5 separate regions of the Homo sapiens genome follow, and all the other regions are linked to region 3. The links are contacts of gene promoters, found by promoter capture Hi-C in blood cells and fetal thymus (Javierre and others, 2016). All regions are on one chromosome and are shown on one strand. The core of a region is centred on a gene start or on the middle of the fragment in contact, and the rest is flanking DNA. Distances in the headings are between cores, read along the strand shown. Region 1 overlaps POLR1A (RNA polymerase I subunit A). Region 2 holds the start of MIR4779 (microRNA 4779). Region 3 holds the start of SH2D6 (SH2 domain containing 6). Region 4 overlaps PTCD3 (pentatricopeptide repeat domain 3). Region 5 overlaps POLR1A (RNA polymerase I subunit A).

Evidence for each region. Contacts are between HindIII fragments. The CHiCAGO score rates a contact against its expected background, and 5 or more counts as called.
Region 1: a fragment that was not itself captured here is called in contact with the fragment with the promoter of SH2D6 in region 3 in 1 of 17 cell types (M0 macrophages); the score reaches 5.3 in M0 macrophages.
Region 2: a contact is called between a fragment that was not itself captured here and the fragment with the promoter of SH2D6 in region 3, in 3 of 17 cell types (fetal thymus, activated CD4 T cells and monocytes). The highest score is 6.6, in fetal thymus.
Region 4: a fragment that was not itself captured here is called in contact with the fragment with the promoter of SH2D6 in region 3 in 1 of 17 cell types (monocytes); the score reaches 5.1 in monocytes.
Region 5: a fragment that was not itself captured here is called in contact with the fragment with the promoter of SH2D6 in region 3 in 1 of 17 cell types (monocytes); the score reaches 6.1 in monocytes.

The regions. Positions count from the first base shown.
Region 1 is chr2:86,035,781-86,038,480 of GRCh38, reverse strand. All of the region lies in intron 27 of POLR1A (RNA polymerase I subunit A), which reads left to right. Among named protein-coding and RNA genes, the nearest start is that of POLR1A, 69 kb to the left of the region's middle. RefSeq lists a silencer at 1,783-1,832 and an enhancer at 2,503-2,562. The HindIII fragment of the contact is 1,272 bases long and covers 658-1,929 here.
Region 2 is chr2:86,192,712-86,195,411 of GRCh38, reverse strand. IMMT (inner membrane mitochondrial protein) reads left to right here. Exons shown (of 15, transcript NM_006839.3): 1 at 1-74. The coding sequence starts at 30. It overlaps MIR4779 (microRNA 4779), which reads left to right and starts at 2,304; the gene lies at 2,304-2,386. RefSeq lists enhancers at 1-79, 100-279, 400-449. The HindIII fragment of the contact is 679 bases long and covers 953-1,631 here.
Region 3 is chr2:85,417,308-85,420,007 of GRCh38, reverse strand. SH2D6 (SH2 domain containing 6) reads right to left here and starts at 1,294. Exons shown (of 24, transcript NM_001394463.1): 1 at 1,078-1,294; 2 at 764-979. It also overlaps a transcript of CAPG not described here. RefSeq lists enhancers at 1,674-1,833, 1,312-1,847, 1,844-1,953. The HindIII fragment of the contact is 6,915 bases long and covers 1-2,700 here.
Region 4 is chr2:86,131,884-86,134,583 of GRCh38, reverse strand. PTCD3 (pentatricopeptide repeat domain 3) reads right to left here. Exons shown (of 24, transcript NM_017952.6): 17 at 2,160-2,266; 18 at 1,328-1,406; 19 at 1,148-1,238; 20 at 207-292. Among named protein-coding and RNA genes, the nearest start is that of SNORD94, 2.6 kb to the left of the region's middle. The HindIII fragment of the contact is 3,229 bases long and covers 1-2,700 here.
Region 5 is chr2:86,080,078-86,082,777 of GRCh38, reverse strand. It overlaps POLR1A (RNA polymerase I subunit A), which reads left to right. Exons shown (of 34, transcript NM_015425.6): 8 at 1,072-1,177; 9 at 1,800-1,962. Among named protein-coding and RNA genes, the nearest start is that of POLR1A, 24 kb to the left of the region's middle. The HindIII fragment of the contact is 2,227 bases long and covers 337-2,563 here.

The DNA.
Region 1 (2,700 bases), core at 44-2,543, 620 kb before region 3:
CCTGAGCCCATTTCTTCTCTTGGGTTGACGTCAGGATTGTTGTCTTCTGGGGCTTGCAGGCATTAAGACATGGAAATGTGGGTGTGGTAAAGAGAAGGGAGCACCATCAAAGCGGTGCTTCTGTGGTGTCGGAGCAGCACATGCTGTTAATGTTTGCTAGGGTGTTACTGCAGGCAGTATAATGTGGTTCCTGATGCATTTAGATTCTGTGAATAATGAACAATGTGCGGGTGGCACGCTGCTGTTAGATCTCCATTCTATAACCAGGATTGCCTCCAGAGAAATTCGAGTTCCTGTCCCGAGTTCCTGTCCAGTAGGGAAAAGGAACTTTTGTCTCAAGTTCAAGTTACTGTTAGATATTTGAAAAGCAGAGGCCACAATGCTGAGTTCCGGGGAGCAGGAGGATGGGCTTTTTGGGGACTGGGGCAAGACTGGAAGAGCCCACGAAGCATTTTTGACTCACCAGCTAACCCTAGACGGTGAAGTGTGAACACAAAAAGGCTGCATAGCCCAGCAGGTGACAGGCCAGTGAAGCAGGCTTGGAGGCCCCCGGCAGACTGAAGAGTGTGGAACCTGTCTCAAGGGGCACCTGTTACTATGCAGGAATGGAGGCCCGGGGGGCCACATCTTTTGATTTAAAAAGAAAGAAAACAAGCTTCCCACCCCCTACGTTTTTTTCTTTCTTGGGTCACTTGTTTACTTGCCTTTGCTTTTATATAATTGAGGTCTCCTGACTTTTAAACATCAGCAACTAATTCATGTGTTTTTAAAAGCCCAGTAAGGCCCAGATGGTTCTCATCTGTTGCAGGATCTGGCCACAGGCCACTGACCACTGCCTCTAATCTAGACCAGTTCTTGGTCTTCTGGGAGCTGCTCAGATAGAGAAGCAATGACAGAGCAGAAGCAGAAAGCTCCCTGCACTCAGCCATCCCACAAACACATACTGAGCCATGCCCATTCGTCGCTGAGTCACGGGGGCAGGCGTGGGCAACACAGTACGACTTTTCTGCCCTCAGCCCTCTGCCCTCTCACCTTATGGGGCCTGGCCTCGAGCCAGCCCTCTGTGCAGGTGGCATTTGGGATGGTGGGTCTTGGGGTGGAGGAGCTTGGATGTGAACTCAGTCCTTTGGACGGGGGTCACTGGCCAGGTGCTTCCTGCCCCAGTTCACGAGCCCTGGGTGAAGTTGTTGTTGGCTGGGCCTCAGGAGCACCTGCGTTGGTGCCAGCCTGGGCTGAGAACATTCCTTCTGTCGAGTGGTCCTCTGTGCTATCTGGGCACTGGGCAGAGTGGCAGGGGAGTGCTGTGTGCACCCGCCTGCCAGCTCCTTAATTAACAGCGAGGAACATAACTACCAAGTGCAGGGGGCGTTTGTGCTGGCCTGGCAGTGGTTTTCTGGGAAATGGGAATTCAGATTTCATGGCCTCTAGAGAATAACTAAGGGTGGACGGAGTTAGATGTTTTGCCCCAGTTCTGTTCACAGGAGGCCCAGGCCAGCCCAGCAGGTAGGTCGGCATGAGGCTGGCGCCAGCCCATGCTGGGGTTCTTTTTACTTATATTACCTCATGGAATTGAAAATAGGAAATCACTTTTTAAGACTTCTTCCTGATGAGGGACAGCCCTGGCTTGTTCCCAGCCGTGAAGTACTTTTTCAACTCCTCCCTGTGTTTTGCTTGTGAACTTGAAAATCTGTGATAAATAAAGCCATGCGCAGTAGCTTTTGGTGGAGGTGGCCTCAAGGACTCAGCAGAATGGGGCTGAGGGGTTAGGCAGAGCTAAAAGATGGGGCAGTGGATGAGCTGGGTGCGGTCTGGACTCCCTTTGTCAGGCCCCAGGCAGCAGAGCAGCTGTGTTCAGGCCTCTGGCCGCCCACAGGAAATGGGAGGAAGTGTGAGTGCACTTTCAAAAGAGCAGCCAACCCCCAAGAAGCTTTTTCTCCTTCCTTTCTCCCATCCCTCCCCCTTCCTTCCTCTCTGCCACCCTCTTTTTCTTTCTCTTTGCCCCCACCCTCCCTTCTCCCAGCTGTGGAGTCATGAGACCCTTGACAGAGCCTGGAGAAAAACAGCACGAGACAGATGGTTCCCTAGGTAGAGATATACAAGCGTAGAAGGCCCCCCAGATCTCTGCACTGGCACCCATCACATGGGCTGTTTGTGTAAATTGTCTGGCAGGTGGCAGGGGAGATGAAGTGGAAAGAGCACTGAGCTAGGAGTTAGGGGCTGTAAGTTTTGGCCTCCGGTCCCCAGCCATGAAAAGACCCAGCTGACAGTCTGTAATTGTAGCTTCTGTGAATCTGACTTTCCAAACAGCAGGTGGTGGAGCTGTTGCCAGGCGCGTTCAGAAACCGCCAGGGGTCATGTGCTCTGTTTGTAATTATTTACGTGGGACGGGAGGCTTCTCTGCCCCTGCCCCTCCTGTTCCCTTTCTGTTGCTACATTCAGGTGAGCTGCACAACCTTGAGAAGGCAGTCACTGTGGGCCGTTAGTTCCCCTGCTCTTGGCAAAACCATAGAAGGGCAAATTGCACCTCCAGGAAAACTGGCACACTGGTCACATGCCTACCACTTACTCACCAGCCATTCATTCTGCCTTCTCACCTCCTTCCCTCCTACGTTCTCCACAAGTCCTGGTCACCAAAAGAGGCAGGGAAGGCAGAAGGCATCCCCAACTGGGGGAATCAGGGAGGGCTTCTTGGAGGAGTTA
Region 2 (2,700 bases), core at 43-2,542, 780 kb before region 3:
CCACCAGCAGCGCCGTCCGCTTGACCGAGATGCTGCGGGCCTGTCAGTTATCGGGTGTGACCGCCGCCGCCCAGGTGAGCACTGGGGCTCCCGGAGGCGCGTGAGGAGGCTGAACTAGAACCGTCAGCGAAAAACGGGGGAGCCTTGGTCGCTGCCTAGCCTCCAGGACAAAGGCGAGCCTCAGGGCCACCCTCGTCGGGAGAGGCCCGGGCGGGCAGCTAGGCAGCCACCAGGGAGTTCGCCGGACTGGGATGACTTGAGGTTATTGCAGCAGCGGGGTGGGGTGTGGAGAGTAGCGGGAGGCGCGGCTTCGTGGGCATGTAGTCCAATCAGGGCCGCGCTGCCCCCGTCCAGGACCAATCCTGGCTGCTGGCGTCTGGGTCGCCGGTTGGGCGCGCGATAGGTTTTCAGTGCTGAAGGTCGACGGGCGAGAACTACAGTTCCCGTCAGGACGAGCGGAGCGGCGGCTTGTTGCATCCTTAATAAGGAGGTGCCTGGACTTCTAGCGAGAGTCCACATTTTAGGGGTCAAGGTTGTAATTATCTGGGAGGGAGTGCCTTTCTTTTCGCAGCTGAGAACACTTCTGAGTTATTCTTAATCCAAACAAAAGCGAAAGATTTTCATTTGTGGAGCTGAAACTCCTGGTCTTCAAGGAAAGACAGGAGTCATGACCTTGTGGCTCATTTCTGAGATTAGGGCAGGGATCTGTGTCTCCAGGCGCTGGGACTACTTTGACATTCAAGGAGCCTAAATACCCAGTTACTTCTAGTTTTGCGTAATTGCCAAAGTTACTTTCTAAAATTGAAAATTAAAAAGCCTGTTTCCACTGCTCATGATTTTCAGGAAGTTGATATTTTGGCAAAATGTAGATAGCAAACCAAGTACTGTGACTCAAGCAGTAATTGAACAGAATCCCTAGGAATAGTGAGTTAGAGATCATAAAAGTCAAGCTTTGTTTTTTCAAGTTCGCTTCTCTTCCTATTTGCTGCTAGGTAACAGAAGCAGCCCCTTCCATAGGAAAGTGGAACGAACCTGTGTTAGTTTTCTATTGCTGCGTAACAAATACCACAAATTTAGCAGCTTAAAACAACACCCATGAATGACCTTACGGGTTCTGTAGGATAGAAGTCTGGGCACGGATGATCTGTGTTCTCCGCTCCAGGTCACATAAGGCTGCAAAGTATTAGCCATGCTGTGGTTCTCATTTGGAGATCAGGGTCCTCTTCCAGGCTCATGCAGTTTGTTGGCAGAATTCAGTCCCTTGCAGTTACAGGACTGAAGTACTTCTTTTCTTGCTGCCTCTTGCCAGCCACTGCTCCCAGCTTCTACAGCCTGCCTACAGTTCCTTGCCTCAAGGCCTCTAGAGGCCATTCATAACATTGATGTTTGCTTTCGTGCAGGCTACCAGGAGCTTGCCTCTCTGACTTCCAAATTTCTTTTACTTTGGTCTTTCCTCTCTAGACCCAGATTTAAAAGGCTTATGTGATTAGACCAGGCCCACCTGGATGACCTCCTTTTCAGTTAATTCAGAGTCAACTTTTTGGGATCCCATTTGGGAATTAAGAAAACTAATTAAAACTTGGTAATAAAAAATGAACCCTTTTATAGCTCTGAATCAAGATGTCTAAGCTTCTTGAAATTGCTGTCTTGTAAAATTCTTTGGTTTATTCTCACCATCTCCTTAATTCTGTAGCATTTGACATTGCTGCTTTATGAGGCTCTTTGTACTTTTGGCTTCTCTCAAGTAATATTTTGGGTCCCATCTCTCTTGTTTTCCTTTACTGAGTCTGCTTCTGCTTTGTACCTCGAAATATACACCTTCTCATCTCTTCCTGTCTCTTTATAGACTCTCTAATTTGAGATTACATCAACTCTCAGAACTTTAATCCCCAAGCAGGTGACTCTCTAGCCTCGTCGTATTTGATTGTATCAACGTATCCAGAATATCTCACTTGTCAAGATCCTTTCCACTTTATTAAACCCCATCTTTCTTTTTTTTTTTTTGGATACGGAGTCTCACTTTGTCACCCAGGCTGGAGTGCAGTGGCACAGTCATGGCTCACTGCAGCCTTGACCTCCTGAGCGCAAGCAATCCTCTTACCTCAGCCTCCTGAGTAGCTGGGACCACAGGCATGTGCCACCATCCCTGGCTAATTTTTTAAAAAATTTTTGTAGAGACGGAGTCTCTCTGTGTTGGCCAGGCTGGTCTCGAACTCCTGGGCTCAAATGATCCTCCCACTTCTGCCTCCCAAAATGCTGGGAATATAGGCACGAGCCACCGTGCCCAGCCAACCCCATCTTCTTAAATGTCTTACTGCTTTTACTGTTCCCTCCTAGAGTCCATTCTTTACTCTAGGAGGGAATAGTAAAAGCAGTAAGACATTTAGTAAAAGGCTTTTTAAAAGGCAAACATGAGGTCATGCTCTTTGGAGACATCGCATCACATTCAAAATAAAATCTAAACTGCTTACCATGGGCCCTTGATCTGACTCTTCTCATATTTCATTTTTCTACTGCCTCACTCAGATTCTCCTGGTAATCTCCAGCATGTGCCTCACTGCCTTTTCATCAGGTGTTTCTTTTGCCCTGAACTCTTCTCACAGGTTTGCTTAACTTATTCCCTTCAGTTAATTTCTCAAATGTCACCTTCCCTTCAGAGAGGGCATCCTGATCCAAAATAGAATTCTGACTACTCTTGCC
Region 3 (2,700 bases), core at 45-2,544:
GGCAAAAGGGCTACTCAACAAAAGGCTGATTGTTTTAACAGAAACACTCAGAAAACCAAACCTTTGAGAACTTCCCAGGCAGAAATAGGCATGCTTAGAGACCACGCGACCAGTTAATATGAACCCCACATCTGCTATCAAGAGAATCTGGGCAATCTACTTTGAATATCCCTTTTGGAGCTGTTTCTAGGTGTTTAGAGATCAAATGAAATATTTCTAGGAAGTAGCTCGCCTCGAACTAACCACACAAGAATGAAATCTCACTGACTTACAAGGTCATGGCTAAACCTTCATTGACTAGGTATTTTCCTCCTTCCTTGATGATCCAGTATGTAGCAGTATATGCCCAGATCAGGAAGTGTAAAAGCTGAAAATGGAGTTGGAGACAGAAAGTCCAATGTGTTGCTGGCCACTGTGGTGTCACTGCTCCCGATACAGGTGTAACCTGAGTCTCCCGCTTGGGAGCCAGAAATCAGCTGAGAAGAGGCCTCTGGAAAGAGGCTGCCCTGGCCCAGAAGGGTGGATGAAGTAGGGCCTCAGCACAGCTCATCCTACCGAGCAGGCCGGACCCTGAGTTCCTGGCTTGCACTGAAGGGTCTGGGTAAGTCCCTTCTGTAGCGCCTCAGAAGCTCCTTGGGCAACCTGGGAAGTTAGGACAAGAGCTCTGACATTTGACCCTGAGGTGTGAGGAGAGTGCTTTGAGAGAGAGGATGCTGAATGCGAGCGCCCTGGTTATTACCTCCTGGCAGCCTCCTAACCTCACCTTGACTCTGCCATGTAAAATTGATGCCTGGGCGCAGGGCGCCGACGATGGTCAGATACCGCGGCCTGCACACCCTGGGACCTACATCCCTGACCTGGAGGACCCAGGCCTTCCCCGGGCTTCACCACGAGTCCTGCCGGCCACACAGGGACCCTAACAGACCTAGTCCAGTCTCAGGGTCTGGGCTGCTCCTCCTTCCAGGAATGGGAGTTTGCTCTAGGCGATGGAGGAAGGGTTCAGGAGGCCACTCTGCCTGCTTAGCAGGCTGTGGGCCCAACCCCCCACCCACCATCTTCATCTCCCACGGCCCCAACCTCGTAGGGAGGGCAGGGCGGGGCTCAGGTTCGCAGAGAAGGAGGGCTCGGACCAGCGACTCCAGGGCAGAGGGGCGCGTGCAGGGGTGGGGAGCTGGGTTTGCGAGGAGAGAAGGCCATCTCTTCCCCAGCAGGGTAGCCCCCACCTAGCTACCGGGATCCCACCCTGGCTGGCGCAATCTTTGCGTCCGGATCAGCACCCAAGGCCCCGCCCAACGGCCCGCTGCCTGCCGGGATTTGTAGTTTGTAGGGGAGGGGCCAAAAGGCGCGCGCGCGCGCGTGTGTGTGTGTGCGTGTGTGACTGTGTGTTTGTGAGACTGTGTGTGTAAGTGTGTCCGGGGGTCTGTTGTGGTGCTCCCGTCCCCGAGGGCCCTCCGGACCTGGGCTCAGCAAAGGCACCACAGGCCGCAGCTTCCGAGACCCCGCCCCGCGGCCCACTGCCTGCTGGGATTTGTAGTTCTTAGGGGTCTAGGGCCCAGGCTGGGGCCGGGTTGGGGCCTTACACGCGTCCTGGCGTGTGGCTCTCCTGCGTCCTCGTTTTTCTCGTGAGCCCTGGATCTGGACAGTGGGCCCGGCGCGAGGCCCTCAACTCCGGCTGGGCTCCCGGTGGCACTTTCTGCCGACCCTGAGATGTACCCGCCACGCCTGCGGGACTGACCTCTAGGTGGGCAAACCGAGGCACAAAGAGGGGCGCGCTCTGGCCGGAGTCGGCCCTCTTGTGAGAATTTGGGCTGGGAGACCCAGCCCAGGCCTGGCAGGCAAGGCTGGGTCAGGCGAGGGTCCTGGGCCCTTTCGGTGTAAGAGTGTGCAAAATAATGAACAGGCCTGCCCAGGACTGGCTCTGCACATTAGCGCTAGTTACCTTACAGGCTTGACTGATCAGATTTTTATTTGGCACCACTACAGAGGGGAGCCCAGGGAGGGAGGAAGTCTCTCGTGACCAAGAAAACCTATGGTCCACCCTGGCCTACAACTCTGCTTTAACGACAAAAATAAACCGAGTTTGGGAGGGGGTGAGGAGGAGGGGTGTTTTGTAAACTGTGAAGTCCAGGTTATGAGTGAGGTGTTATTATCATCAGGATCAGACCTCAAAGCACTGGAGGAAAGGTCTGGGCCTTCAAGAGCCTCACCTCAAAAGGGAGGGTATGGCCGGGCGCAGTGGCTCACGCCTGTAATCCTAGCATTTTGGGAGGCTGAGGCAAGCAGATCACCTGAGGTCAGGGGTTCAAGACCAGCCTGGCCAACATGTCGAAACCCCATCTCTACTAAAAATAGAAAAAATTACCCGGGCGTGGTGGCACGTGCCTGTAATCCCAGCTACTCGGGAGGCTGAGGCAGGAGAATTGCTTGAACTCAGGAGGCGGAGTTTGCAGTGAGCCGAGATGGTGCCACTGCACTCCAGCCTGGGCAACAGAGCCAGACTCTGTCTCAAAAAAAAAAAAAAAAAAAAAAAGAGCTGAGATAGCTGTTTGCATGTGAAAGGACTCACAACTGGCACTAGCATGCGGTGATAGTGGGGAGGGCATGGACTCCCACTACATGGCTCCCATCTATCCTCTGCCGCTTACTAAGTGGGACCTAGAACAAGTGATTTTGACCTACTTTATCTCTCTTTATCTCTGT
Region 4 (2,700 bases), core at 121-2,620, 710 kb before region 3:
TTTCATGTTGCTTGCTTTGGACTACAGGAAAGAGGGTAACTTTAAGAACAGATTTCTGCTAAGGGCAAGATATGTTTAGATGTATCATCACTCAAATATGGGTTTGGGTAGCAGAACTCTCCAAAATGGCAGATAAAACCAGGGAAGCTAGCCTTAAGAAGACCTCAGTATGGGAGGATATACTGGCTGGTGAGTTTCAGGCCTACCTCTGGTGGGTGCTTGTCCCTTGCCATGAGCATCAGGATCTCTTCTCTCAGGTCACTGCGGAAAGTATGACCATATTCTTTACTATCTTGAAACAAGAAAGGAACAAGGAGTGATCATTGTTATGTAAAACCAACACACTTTTGTTCACTGTCAACCTATTTTTTGGTAGGTAAAAATAAGTTGCTGTTATTTATTCTAGGCTTATCCCAGGATTCCAGAAACCCACCAGGATTCACAGTGGAACAAATGTAAAAGCCAATGCCTGGGCCTTGCTCCAGTGACGTGTTCATCACGGCATGTGCACTACATGGGAGCAGCCACCAGCTCCACGTGGTTAAGACGTTGTTTTATAGCACTTGGGAATTTGATATACTTTTATCACTCATTAGAGCAGTCGTGTGAAGCAGGAGGGCGGGACTAGAGCCTACTGACTTTATGATACAGTAGTCACCTAGTGAAAGATACAGAATATCTATTTCATTTTGCAGCCAAGTTATACACATAAGACACACACACCCGTGATGCGTGATGCTCATGGCTATTACTTGGAAACAGAATCATCACTGACTGTGGTTAGTGAAGTGAGGCAACACTGGCACAGAGGAATTACACAGGCTTCCGGGTCAAAGACCTTTATTCAGATTTAGGGTCTGCCACGCCATTAGCATTTATTTTCTTTGGGTCATATCCCGCAACAGGTGCACAAAACTCAGCTCATTCCTATGTCACGAAGGGACTGACTTAAGTCATTTTCAACAAAATTTTCTCCTGATAGCCAACATGCAACATGAGCACATGACCTTGAAGTACATCTCAACTAACACATTTGGTTCAGTCAAAATGGAAGTTTTCATCCCTAACAGTAATGTTAGCACATTCATTATCAAAGTAGAGGATATTGAGGTGAGATGCACCTGGACACATAAAAAGTAAAACTGACCTTTCCAAATTTTAGGAATCACTTCTAGCCGATTGGCCACATCCAATGCTTGGAGAAGATGTATCATTGTTTGGGAGTGGGGAAAGTAGGCCTGATTAAGAGAAACACATTTTTAAAGCATTAATCTGCAGAAACCCAATTCATCTAGAATGATAAATAACAAGTAATGAACCATCTTACTGAAGGTATCAGGTCCTCATACCACTTCAAGGTAACATCAATTTGTTCCATTAGACAAATCAAATCGAAGAACTTGGAACTGTGATGAAGGCAAAAAGTATGTTTAGTCTAAAGTCCCTATGTCTAACAACAGGGGAAATAAGGGTTGAAATTATAGCATATTATATGTTACAAAGAATTTCAAAATACTTACAGTTTCAAGTTAAACGAGCCAATATTTGGTTTAAGAGCTGCCAGTGTGTGCTGACTTCTCAATTAAACACCCTACCCTCAACTGGTCATTTCTAACTGTTTCCTCTGTATACTCTTAGGTCATGGTGAATAGATACTGAATTTCAAATTCATTTTAAAAACATTCAATGTGAAACAAGGATTTGGATACACAGAAAACAATTCTCACACATCTGTTAACATGCTGCCTTCTTAAATTCATGTTCTTATCTGCCTAAAAGCAAACCCATTTAGGGAGTATCTCTAGGTTCCAGTATCTTCATCTTTGAATACAAAAGCAAGGGAGGTGAAAGGAAATCTTCAGGGCTCACCCTGCTATAACAATTTGAAAATGTAAAATGAGAGGGGGTAGAGGAAAAAGATATGTGGATTTTACAGTGTTGCAAAAAAAAAAAAAAAAAAACCCTTAAAGGACACAAACTAGTCTTTCAAATCTGGCAGTTTTACCACTGCTTTAATTCCTAAGTGCTCAATTAACATGTCCTATTAGATCATTGGCATGTTGCCTGAAACCAGAGGTGAGGTATGAAGGGACATCAACAGCCTCCCACTTGCAGAATCTGGTAACTCATGCAAAAGGATATGTTTCCAACACACTTACTAATAGAAATTACGATGTTGATCAGGTCCAATGAATTTCCAGTTGTCTCCGGTTTTTAAAAGGCCATGTACTTGGTAGGCAAGTTCTAGATCTCTGAGAGATGAGCACTGAAAATATGCAAGTAGTAAGTATCACTCTGATACCCTGTCAGCCAGTGGTTCACAAATAAATAACAACAGTAGAGTGTCTTGTGAAAATAATGTTGATTCAACATATTATTGGTTGACAGCAAGTAAGTTATAAGAAATGGGGGGGAGACAAATCCCAAGTTCTGTGAAATTTATTACAATATTATTTTAATTAAGCAATTATACCATTAAAAATTAATCCTGTAACAACACCTGGTCAAGTGCACAAAAGACACCTGCACTGCAGAGTCTGGACTAGTAAAAATCTCCATGAAATAACTCCAAAATCTACCCACAGGAAAGTTAAGTTATGGTTCTTACTATGAAATACTGGTTGCTGCCAACAAATAAAACACCCTGAAAGTATGCCTGGATATACATACGCTTGAGTACCCAGAGTAAAAACCTTGTGA
Region 5 (2,700 bases), core at 201-2,700, 660 kb before region 3:
AAATGCCCGTAAGTAAAATGCTTTGTCCTTCTGTGAATCAAAGAATGAACTCTGTCTTATTTAAATTGGGACTTTACTATAAGGGAAATCCTTCTTTCCTTTTGAGTGTATAACAAAACCTACGCAGTATATTCAAGCCCTTGTGAGAGTATGTTGTGGAACGCTGACTATAACCTCTGTGTAATAAGCGCTTACAAATGAACATGTTGTTAAAGAGGTATCAGAAAAAAAAAAAAGCACTGGAGTTAGTATGATTGCTTCTGTGGCAGGCCCTAGTACATTTTAATCTTTTTCTCTAGGCATTTTTTAAAGTAACCAGAAACCTGAAATAAAGCTTTGATCCACAGAAGATCCTTTCTTGGCAGTAACTGTTAGGGGTGGGAGGAGGCTAACTTAAAAAAAAATTTTTTTATTCAACATATTTTTTATGAAGATCAAAGTAATGATGTGTGTGCTGTCTGTGTTTTAATAGTCCAGGAGGGTGATTAAAAACAAGTGAAGTTTCTTCCCCATCCTTGCCCATCTCAGTCCCTGGTTTAAGAGCTATTGTCCCTGTAGTACCCATTTTTATGCTATCATATCCCCTGCATACAAACTGTCATGTACACAGGGGCTATTTTTTGTTTTTATAAAGAAAAATGAGGCCAGGCACGTTGGCTCATGCCTCCAATCACAGCAATATGGGAGGCTGAGGCAGGTGGATCAATTGAGCCCAGGAGTTCGAGACCAGCCTGGGCAACCAAGCAAAACCTCATCTCTTAAAAAAAAAAATACAAAAATTAGCTGGACATGATAGCACGCACCTGTAGTCCCAACTACTTGGAAGGCTGAGGTGGCAGGATTGCCTAAGCCTGGGAGATCAAGGCTGCAGTGAGTCATGATCGCACCACTGCACAGCAGCCTGGGCGACAGGAGTGAGACCTTTTCTCAAAAAAGAAAACTGTGACCTTAACTCTACATATTATCTTGTATTCTGTTTTTTCCTCACTCAGTAATATTTTTATGGTTGTCCTCCCATGCCCTTAGTGATAGATTTAAATGGTCTTCTTGGTTTATTTCTTTCCAACGCAGGATTCTTTCTGAACTACCTTTTTTCGGGAATGGATGATGATGGTATGGAATCCAGATTCAATCCCAGTGTGTTCTTTCTAGATTTCTTGGTGGTGCCGCCCTCAAGGTAATACCCTTTAATTAACTTATTTCACCTGAAAAAAAGCGTACTAAGGAACTGAAATGTGACCTCTAGGAGAGGTGAAAGGGCCAAGGGCACTGAGAGACAAAGCTGCAGTTCCGCTCCAGGTGCAGGTGGTGGGAGGGCTTGCTTTCCTTCCCGTTTGTTGTGAACGCAATAGGAATGTTGGTTGTTTTTGTTTGTTTGTTTTGAAGTGGAGTCTTGCACTGTCTCCCAGGCTGGAGTGCAGTGGCATGACCTTGACTTACTGCAACCTCTGCCTCCTGGGTTCAAGTGATTCTCCTACCTCAGCCTCCTGAGTAGCTGGGATTACAGGCACGCACCACCACACCCAAATAATTTTTGTATTTTACATAGAGATGGGGTTTCACCATGTTGGCCAGGCTGGTCTCGAACTCCTGACCTCCAGTGATCCACCTGCCATGGCTTCCCAAAGTACTGGGATTACAGGCTTAAGCCACCACACCCAGCCGGAATGTTGGTTAGGAAGGTTGGTTGTTTTGAGCATGGTGGGGTGTGCTCCCTACAGTAGGCATGGGTGAGAGGCTGAAGAACATGACCCTTTCCTCACACTAAACATTCATTTATTCCGTATGTCCCCCTGCAGGTATCGCCCAGTCAGTCGCCTAGGAGACCAGATGTTTACTAATGGCCAGACGGTGAACTTGCAGGCTGTCATGAAGGATGTAGTTCTGATTCGAAAACTTCTGGCATTGATGGCCCAAGAACAGAAGTTGCCAGAGGAAGTGGCCACACCCACTACAGATGAGGTCAGGGCTGCTCTGTTGCTGATGTGATGAGCACACATGCTTAGTGCTAACTCTGTGAGCTGTGGATGTAGACACTGGGTCTGGGAGATGCTTCCTGGGATGTTCTGTGCAGCTGGCAGCAGCCTTAGTGTGAGCTCTGGGCTTAGGGGGCACCTAGGAACATTAGGGGGACACACATGGGTCTGAGCATGGAAAGGTGTGGGTTCTGGTCTAGCTTCTACACCGAACGACCATGCCAGGTGACCCTAGTTGAGTCACTTCCTTATACTAGTGTCTGCTATAAAGTGCATGTGATTTGTGGTGAGATTTCACACCTAGGCTGTTCCGGGCTACCAGCTCTCGCAGCTCTAGAAAGAATAGCCTACTTCCCTCAGGCTTTAAGAGTGTCCCTTTTGGGTCACAGTACTAGAGCTCATGTTGCCAGCTCTATTTTGGACACGTTAATGTCTCCAGCATTGGGGTCAGGAAGGCAGTATTGCAGAGTGGAAATTCCTCTCAGAATAGGACAGTTTCAACTAACATTTCCTGAGCCCCATCTGTGTGCCGGGTTAATTAGTAGGTGTTCAGTGGGTACAAAGGTGAATTGGGCACCCAGGAAGCTTGCTGAGGTCATCAAGATCCTTCCCAGCTCTAAAGTACTCTCTGGATGCAAATAGGCAGCCTTGGGTAGACAGTCCGGGTTCTCAGACTCCAGCCGCTGCGACAGTCCCGCTGTCTGCCAGGCCCATCACAAGGTGG